Linked DNA regions of Homo sapiens: region 2 is linked to region 1. Evidence: promoter capture Hi-C in human tissues and cell types (Jung and others, 2019). All regions are on one chromosome and are shown on one strand. The core of a region is centred on a gene start or on the middle of the fragment in contact, and the rest is flanking DNA. Distances in the headings are between cores, read along the strand shown.

What was found. Contacts are between HindIII fragments. The study calls those that stand out against the background at their distance.
Region 2: a contact is called between a fragment that was not itself captured here and the fragment with the promoter of CDH24 in region 1, in 1 of the 25 tissues and cell types used here (aorta).

The regions. Positions count from the first base shown.
Region 1 is chr14:23,054,679-23,058,900 of GRCh38, forward strand. CDH24 (cadherin 24) reads right to left here and starts at 2,842. Exons shown (of 13, transcript NM_144985.4): 1 at 2,725-2,842; 2 at 855-1,179; 3 at 381-675; 4 at 69-188. The coding sequence starts at 1,055. It overlaps ACIN1 (apoptotic chromatin condensation inducer 1), which reads right to left. Exons shown (of 19, transcript NM_001386863.1): 19 at 3,886-4,222. It overlaps LOC105370705 (collagen alpha-2(I) chain-like), which reads left to right and starts at 2,982. Exons shown (of 2, transcript NR_169511.1): 1 at 2,982-3,364; 2 at 3,607-3,971. RefSeq lists silencers at 2,722-2,841, 2,922-3,071. The HindIII fragment of the contact is 20,564 bases long and covers 1-4,222 here.
Region 2 is chr14:22,520,924-22,525,154 of GRCh38, forward strand. It overlaps TRA, TRAJ22, TRAJ21 and TRAJ20. Among named protein-coding and RNA genes, the nearest start is that of LINC02332, 34 kb to the right of the region's middle. The HindIII fragment of the contact is 5,765 bases long and covers 1-4,231 here.

The DNA.
Region 1 (4,222 bases), core at 1,592-4,091:
GAGAGATGCTGGTCAGAGGGTGTCTGTCCCCTTGGCTGCCCCACCGGGCTCCCAGGCTCCATCCTCACCAGTCTGGGGGTCCACAGAGAAGAAAGGCAGTCCATCCAGAACAGTGTACACCAGCTTGGCACTGTTCCCATAGCTGGGGTCATCAGCATCGTGAGCAGTCACCTGGATCACTGATGTCCCTGTGGGGGATGCCAGCACGCCATTCAGCAGCAGCAGGGAAGGATGGGGAAGAACAACCGATGGGGGGGGATGCAGATACGAGGGAGGCTGAATTGAAGGGGGCAGGTTCTGGGGCAGACAACAAGAAGGGAAGGAGAGGTGAGAGAGCTCCAGAAGACGGGAACTGGGGCATTCAGAGCTGGGGTGCTCACCGACATTGGACATCTCGGGCACGGTGGCATGGTAGGGCCCAAGGGGAAAAATGGGTGGATTGTCGTTGATGTCTTGCACTTTGATGATGAACTCTGATGGGGGCTCCAGGGGCCGGTTGGAGGCTCGGTCCACGGCTTGGGCCAGTAGCACATATTGCGCCTTTTCCTCCCGGTCAAGGCTCTTGGTAACATGAATATTGCCTGTGGCCTCATCAATCACAAATACGGTGCCTGCCCCCTCCCCGGTCAACAGGTACTTGGTGCGGCCCTCTCCCCGGTCAACATCCGAGTGCAGCTGCAGGGGTCACGAAAAGATGGCAGAGGGCTCCAAGTACAGAGACAGGGTTAAAGAGTCTAGGTTTGGGTAGAGCGTTGGGAGTCCTGAGGGACCAAGGTCATTGCAGAAGTGATGAAGTTGCAGGGCAGGGCCTGAGGGCTTGGTGTCAGAGTAGACATGGGAGGGGTCATCCTTACCTTGCCAATGAGAACAGGCTCTGGACCAGCATATTCCTCAATGACAAAGAACTGGTTCCAGACCCAGCTCCTTCGAGTCCGCAGCAGAGCAGGCCCTGGGTGTTCCCGGGACCCTGCCCAGGCCCGGGCTGGGGCTGCCAGACGCCCCATGCAGCCCCAGCCACCCAGCCAGGCCAGCAGGAGCCTCACCAGGCCCCACATGTTTGGACTCCAGCCAGGGCTCTGTTCACTGGCCCTGGGTGCTGAGGCTGGGCCAGGCCACGTGGCCCATGAGCTGGCTGGGGTGGAGGGGCAGATGCGTTGAGGCTACCCCATGGATCCACACCTGCAGGACAAGCAGCTGCTCAGGCTCAAGGAAACCCCTAGCCCTCCTCCCCCGCAAAATTAGATGCTGAAGACCAGACCTCCAAGGAACCAGACACTCCACTGCCCAGAACTCAGACTAAGACAGAGAGCAGAGAGGCTGATCCTTCCTCCACCCAGGCTCTGCATGTATTCACCTCCAGCCCTCCAAGCTGATAAATCTCTGGTCAGTCAACTCTGAGTAGAGAACTGGGGAGGAACACAGGAGAGGGGATGCTGGGAGGGCTTGGAATCCCAAATCTGGTCTCTGTCCTCCCAGGTTGGGCACGTAGCCAGGTATTGGAGGAGGCGGGGCTACCAGAGAAAGGGCTTAAAATTACGGAGTTGGGATTCATGGAGGTGTGGCCTTAAGGTGTCTAGGGTCAGCATGAGATGACAAGGAGTGCAGCCTCAGGCAGGGCTGAGAGTCTGTGAAAGTCCCTCCCCACAAGGGGGAGCCCCACTCTCCAGGCCCTGTCTCCAGCCCACGCTGCCAGTGCAGTCCTTGAAGGGGGACTGGGCTCGTGAGACAGGAGTTGGGAGCCAGAGCTGAAGGAAGAGGATACAGGGTGGGGGACAGGGGGAGGTGACCGGGGAGAGAGGTCCACCCAGAGGCTAGAGACAGATAATGACTGACGGCTAGACTGACTCAGGGACTGTCCGGCAGAGAAATGACTGGATGAGAGACAGAAACAGAACAGTGGCAAGAGACAGAATGAGAGAGACCAGGGCAGCAGCCTGGGTGTCTGAAGGCAGAGAGGAGTCCTAGGGGCCAGGCTTGGAAACGGGTCACCGGGGGCAGTTCCGGGCAGGCAGGGGCAGACCTCAGCTTCGGGGGTGTCAAGCCAGGCCTCGGGAACTTAATTCTGGGAGAAGGAGCAGACAGGAGGGGTGGAGGCAGGGAGGGGCCACGGGAAGGGAGCTAGAGAGGAGACCCTTCCCACTGCTCTCCTTTCTCCTAGGGGCGGGGGGGAGGACCCCTCAGGTAGCTGTGGCTTCTGCCCCTCCTCCCTCAGAGCAGACACACACCTGACAGTCCCTTTGCTCCCGAGGGAAGGGGGAAACCGGAGGAAGGCTGGGGACCAGAGAGAAGGCGGGATGAGGAGGCGAGAAGGAAGGGGATAGAGGAGTGGGAAACAGGATAGCAGGAAGGGGAGAGGAGAGGGAGGGAAAGGAGAGCAAGAAAGAGAAAAGAGAAAGGCAGGAAAGGGGAGAAAGGTAGAGAAAGAAAAAGGCAAAGAGGGAGAGGAGATGGAAAAAGGACAAGAGGGAGAGGGAAGGGTTGGGGAGACAGAGGGAAGGGATAAGGAAGGCAAACAGGCAGAGAAGGAAGGGTGAAGAGAAATCGAGAGAAGAAAGAGGGAGAGAGGTGCGAGGGGAGAAGGGAAAGAGGCAGAGCGCGGGAGAAGGGAGCCGGCAGCGGGCTCCCAGCCACGGAGCGCACCCCTCCGAAGACCCCCGCAGGCTGCGGGCCCCCTCCTACCCCTCCGCGGATTCCCGACCCCTGCTCCGGGGCAGGCGCCCTTACCTGGCACTGCCGAGGGGCCCAGGCCGGCGGGAAGCGCCCCCGCCCGCCCCCGTCGCCGGGTCCCGGGGGCACAGCCCCGAGCCGATTGGAGCGGGCGCCGCGGCTCCGCTGCAGGTCTGAGCGGCCCCGGCGAGAACAAGGGAGCGAGACGGAGGGGGCGGGGGAAGAAGACTCCGCCTGCGGAGGAGCGAGGCGGCTCCGCGCCGCGCGGGAGAGGAGAGCCCAGCCTCCGACCCTCCCCGGCCAGCCGGGCCCGCGCGGCGGGGGCGGGGGCGGAGGCGGCGCCGCGCGTCCGCCCCCTCGGCGCTCCTGGGCTGCGGGGCGCATACAGATGCGGCGCCCCTCCCGGACCGGGCCCGCAGCGCCCGGCAGGGCACTCGGGCGGGAGGACGTCCAGGCCACGGCGCCAGGCCATTTCCGAAGAGCTGGCGGGGCGGGTGCACCCGGGAGCGCGAAGCTGCCAGTCCCCGCCCGCAGCGGAAAACGGGCGAGCGCGCGGTGAGGTGGGGAATTCGGAGCCCACTGCGGAGAGACCCGGCTCCGGGCTCCCGGTTCCCGGCTGGCTTTTGGGACTGGTGTGGATGGAATCCCAGCTGCAAGGCGGCGGCGTTTTGAGAGCCCATGCAAAGCACGGTAGCAGGTCAGCTGGGGGACACTTAAGGACGGCAGAAGGGTCCAGAGAGTCCGAGGCCCGGGCCCAGGGAGCGGGTCGGGAACAGAGGCACGACATCGGCGGGAGGTCGGAGGCGGGCAGTGGAACCCTTCTTGGGAAGCTCGGTTACAGGGGCCAACAGAGCGAGGAGCTGCCGCCCCCTGGTGGTAGTTGTGGGAGGCACCAAGGTGGCAGGCAGGTGACCAAACCCCTAATTTAACCGTGCACAGGACCAGGAACCAGAAGAGGACCCACCCTCCTAGCCCTGCTGGGGTGCCGCCACGGACACAGGTTGCTCCATGCCTTCCCGAATGAGGAAGGTCCACAGCTTTGGGTTGGTCAGGGCCAAGGCAGGGGATAAAAGACGTGGGAAGTTCAATAAGCAGGAAGCAGTCAGCCTAAAGGAACACATGGAATGAGAGCAACTCCTACTCCAGATATCCTCAGATGTCCACGCTCAGATATCCACAGTGGCTTCTTAACCTGCCCAAAGAAAGCCACTCACACAGTTTAAAACTAAGTCAGATTTTTATTTTTTTTTCCATAGACCACATCATTTAATAATAAAAAAAATAAAAATAAAAATTGAACAAAAGGAAAAGGTGGATATAAAGTGGAACCTGTGGGAAAGAGGCAAGGGCTGCAGGACAGAAGAGACTGGGAACTGCAGGGGCCCTGGGACTCAGGAGGAGATGCTGATTCAGCTCATAGGTGACCCAGTCCTGGCCCCGGCTGTTCCCAAGAGAAGGCTGTAAGTACCCAGGGAGGTGGTAAGCAGGATGGAGGAAAAATCAGAGGACTGGGGCACCTGGCTGTTCCCCATCTCTGGCCAACCACCTCCTTGCC
Region 2 (4,231 bases), core at 851-3,350, 530 kb before region 1:
TTACTCATGACTACTGAGGGACACTTCCTGTTTCTGAGACTTTCAGCCAAAAATTCGTACAGCGTAGCCTCACGGAGCAGAGAGAACCTTGACAACATTCCTTTTTGACTTTCTCCATGGATGAGAAAACTGAGGCTCAGGGAAGAGACAGATCCCGGCCCCACAGCCAGTCTATGGCTGAGCTAGAACTAGATTTTAGGTCTCTAATTTGCCAAACCTGTCAGTTGGCTCAAACTTGAAGTTTGAAGAGTCCGCAAGATTCATCTGACAAATATTTTCATGTACTTGCCCTCTGCCAGGCTCGTTGCTGAAACCAGGGATCCAACAGGAAGCAAACTCAGTGTGATATTGCCTTCATGAAACTTACATTCTGGAGGTGGATTCCATGTTTCTTCCCAGATATGACAATGCTTACCCTGATTTCTCTTGGGCATGGCTCTCTTATACTATCATCACTTCCTTAGGAAATACTAAAACTAATTTTTGCTGCAGTTTAAAGTCCTTGAGCAGATAACTAACACACATACCACTTTAGTCAGGAGAAGGGAAATGCCCAAAAGTGAAGTAGAAAACTAGGAATTTGTCTGATAATTGATTATTATAAAGTTATTTTATCAGTGTGAAATGAGTGGCCAAATTAACTGGACAATGCCAGCTCTGTACCTACCTCACTTTGATTCTATAGACTCAGTCTCAGGAGGATTCAAGAATTCAGACAGTTCTCTGATGACATAATCCAGTGATGCCCACAACAGAGGAGGCGTATTCTCTATTCTGGACTTTGTGAGTCTCCTTGGATGAAAAGATTCAAGTGCTGTTTTGACACCTAAAATCAGAGAGTATTTGCTCTATACATATATCGAAAATACACAGTTAATGTTTAGAACTTTGTAGTGGAAAGTGGAAAGCAAAGGTCCCCTAAAAGAAAATGGGATTGTAAAGACGAAGGAGGGTTAGTTTAGGATTTGTAGAAAGTCAGTTTGGCTACTCCAGACCAAACCTAGATTAACAGTGATGCAGGCCTAATTCATAAAGGAAGCACTGCCAGCTCTTTATTCAGTGCTTTGCCAACCTGGCCTGTTTGATCTGGTTTTTGTTGTTGAGCAAATCATAGTGTTTCTTCTGGTTCTGCAAGGCAACTGACCTTTGGATCTGGGACACAATTGACTGTTTTACCTGGTAGGCTGCCTCAATTAAATACTATTTGCACTGATTTACTAATCTACAAATGTATTCTGTACATGTAACTTAATGGGCCTGAGGTTGAAGATGGGGAGAGACAGCAACAATGCATACTAGAAAGGGTAATGCGAGCAGAGAATTATTTATCAGAGACCAAGAAGAGAAAGAGAAGCTTTTTGCTAAGGCTTTTAGTAATAGGAGTTAATGAAAATGAATAGAAAAAAATTTCATTTTAACTTAGAAGAATTGCTGAATAATGGGAACAGATTCCATAAGGGGAACCTCTGCTTCTGAAAATATTTGCACTAGGACCAGCCTACGTGCTACAAAAACTGTCTCACACCAAGTCTAGTTGGTCACTTACATTTTTAGCCTATTCTAGTAGCTATTTCTAAATAAGTCTTTAAACATAGAGGTGCCTATATTTAAGATATTTAAATGAGGCTCTATTTCTATAGCTCTCTGGTGCCCTTCCAGCAAAGCATTGCTGTAACACATTGCTTATCATTTCTACAAGTGAGAACAAGTAAGCCCCTGGCCCTCCAAAATTGCATGAGTATTATAATTACTTGGCTTAGATTGAAGTCACTTCTGTGTTACTTCTCATAACTGTGTTCATTTGTTGAGATCTGTTTAACTCCAAACTGTGTGGGCGTCTAACTGTTGGCACTAAGGTTTCTTTTCTCTTGAAATTGCCAGCAAAATATTTTACCCATAAATAATGTTTCATCTAGACTTGCAAATGACAACTAACACTGCAGGCTCTTTTTTTTTCTTTTGCTTTGTTTCTTTTTTTCTGAAGGGAATATGCAAGCAGGAAGCAAAAAAAAAAAAAAAGCCAAAATGTACAGTTTGACTGTGGGGTCTGGGAGGAGAGTGTCAATGTGGATGCTAAAATATACATGGTTGTATAATGTAGGTACTGTCACAGAGAGGCTATAGTGATCTTATTAGATCATACATACAGAGCACCACTGGTCAGCTGGCGTTGCTCGGGGTGTCCTTAAGAAAAGCTCAGGTCTAGTTGTCAAGTGCAACCCAGATTCAGATACAGAGTCTCAGAGAGAAGCTTCCAGATCACCCTGGAGCTAAATGCAGAATATGAATTTTCCCCTTAGTTAAGTCTACCTGAGGGGAATTTTCATTTATAATTAGGAAAAGAGAAAGGTAAAGAACATTTACTTGCAGTGTCCTGTTTCAAATATTGTGTGCATTGAGCACAGAGGACACAAGAATGAACCCAAGCAGAAAACTAAAGAAAAGAAATCAATAAAACCACTGAAGAAAACCAGTTGCCCTTATCTTGCCTGTCTCTGATAATGAATGTGCCTTCCCTGCTCATTCCTCACTTTGGTTCTCAAATTTTCCAGGGAATTAGCAAAGAACTGGTAGGGTTGGGTTAGTCTTGGTCTAATTTGGTTAGTCATCTCTGGATAACAAGTCTCCTTTTTAGGAAGTGCCAGGGGATTTTTTGTAATGCCAATAAACATGGTGTACAACTTCAACAAATTTTACTTTGGATCTGGGACCAAACTCAATGTAAAACCAAGTAAGTTATAGTTGCCTAGAAGAAAAAGTTACCAACACATTATGCTAAATTCTTCTTTTCAGTCTGTATTTCAGTTCTTTTATTTTGCATTTTGGGTCCCCACCCATGATATTTTATTAGTCCTTATTCATATGTCACTTGAACAGATATGTAGTAAACAAATCTCATGATCGAGTAGACATGCTGAAACTGCCAATGTTCTCAAGGTGCTATTCTTTATAAGGAAAATGCCCAAATTTTAACTGTTGCTACTGAACAAAAGAGCATTTGGATATAATTTAAAGCACCCCTGAATGTCCAGGATTTCAGAGAGGAGACATGACAAATTAAAATTATATGTATTATTTAAAGATGAAAAGAATTAGATCCTCTTGAAAATACTCTAATAACTAACATTTCTTCAACATTCGCAATATGCAAAGCACCTTTCATACCTTGACTCATCTGACCCTCCTAACAACCCTCTGGGATAGATATTACCTATCTCCGCTTCCACAGATGAGGAAACAGTGTGAAAGGTAAAACTAAAGCAAAGAGGTTGAAATAGTTACCCAAGGGCTCACCGCAGATGAGGGGCAGAGCTAGATTAAGAGCCTGGCCTGCCTGTCCCCTAGCCCACTCTCTTAACCATGGTCTTGGTGAGGTTTGTGTAGGGCGACCTCGCACTGTGGTTCTAACGACTACAAGCTCAGCTTTGGAGCCGGAACCACAGTAACTGTAAGAGCAAGTAAGTAAGAAAGAAAAGTCCAGAATAATTTTAAGCAAAATGGTGGGTAGGTTTTTCAGCAATTTCACCTAGGAAGTGCAATGTCAAGAACTAAATTCTAAGAGCTTTCCCAGTTTGTGTTAGAACCATAATTTTTCTACCTCACACGTCTCCCTCGCCTTCTCTGTCACCTCAGAACAGCTCCTCCTAAGGCATGACTTCACAATGGTACATTTGTTGGTGGCGCAGTCTTTGTGGTCAGATAAAAACTGAGCTAATTATCTGAAATTATCTCAGGTCTCTAAGTGAGAGAGTTAACTCCTTTCAAATATTTGAAGAACTACGATGTAGACCAGGTAAGGGGTGAGTGTGGAGGCCAAATCAAAACGAGCAGGTGCAAGATGTGCCCCAACCTCCCCTCAAACATTGTTGAACAAGTGGAACTGCCCTGCAGTGGAAAGGCTGCTTTGTGAAGTATGGAACTTTTCTTCCTTAGATATCTTCATGCCAGACCCCTAAGGTTAACCATGAGATGTTGCAGAAGGCACTTCTATGCCATTTTAGCTATTAGATTGAATCACCTCTGGGCTCCCTTTCAAATCTAAATGCTAAGATCCCATGACTCAAGCCTGGAGGATTAATAGGTGAGCTCAGACTTGTTTCTTCTATTTTTACTATTTTGATAGCCAAAGAAATAATTCATCAAATTATTCATAAGCTAAAGCCTACTTGGGATTTTTACACCTAGAAGATGGTGGGGTATGATTTCCCAGTGCAGTAAATGAGAAAACAAT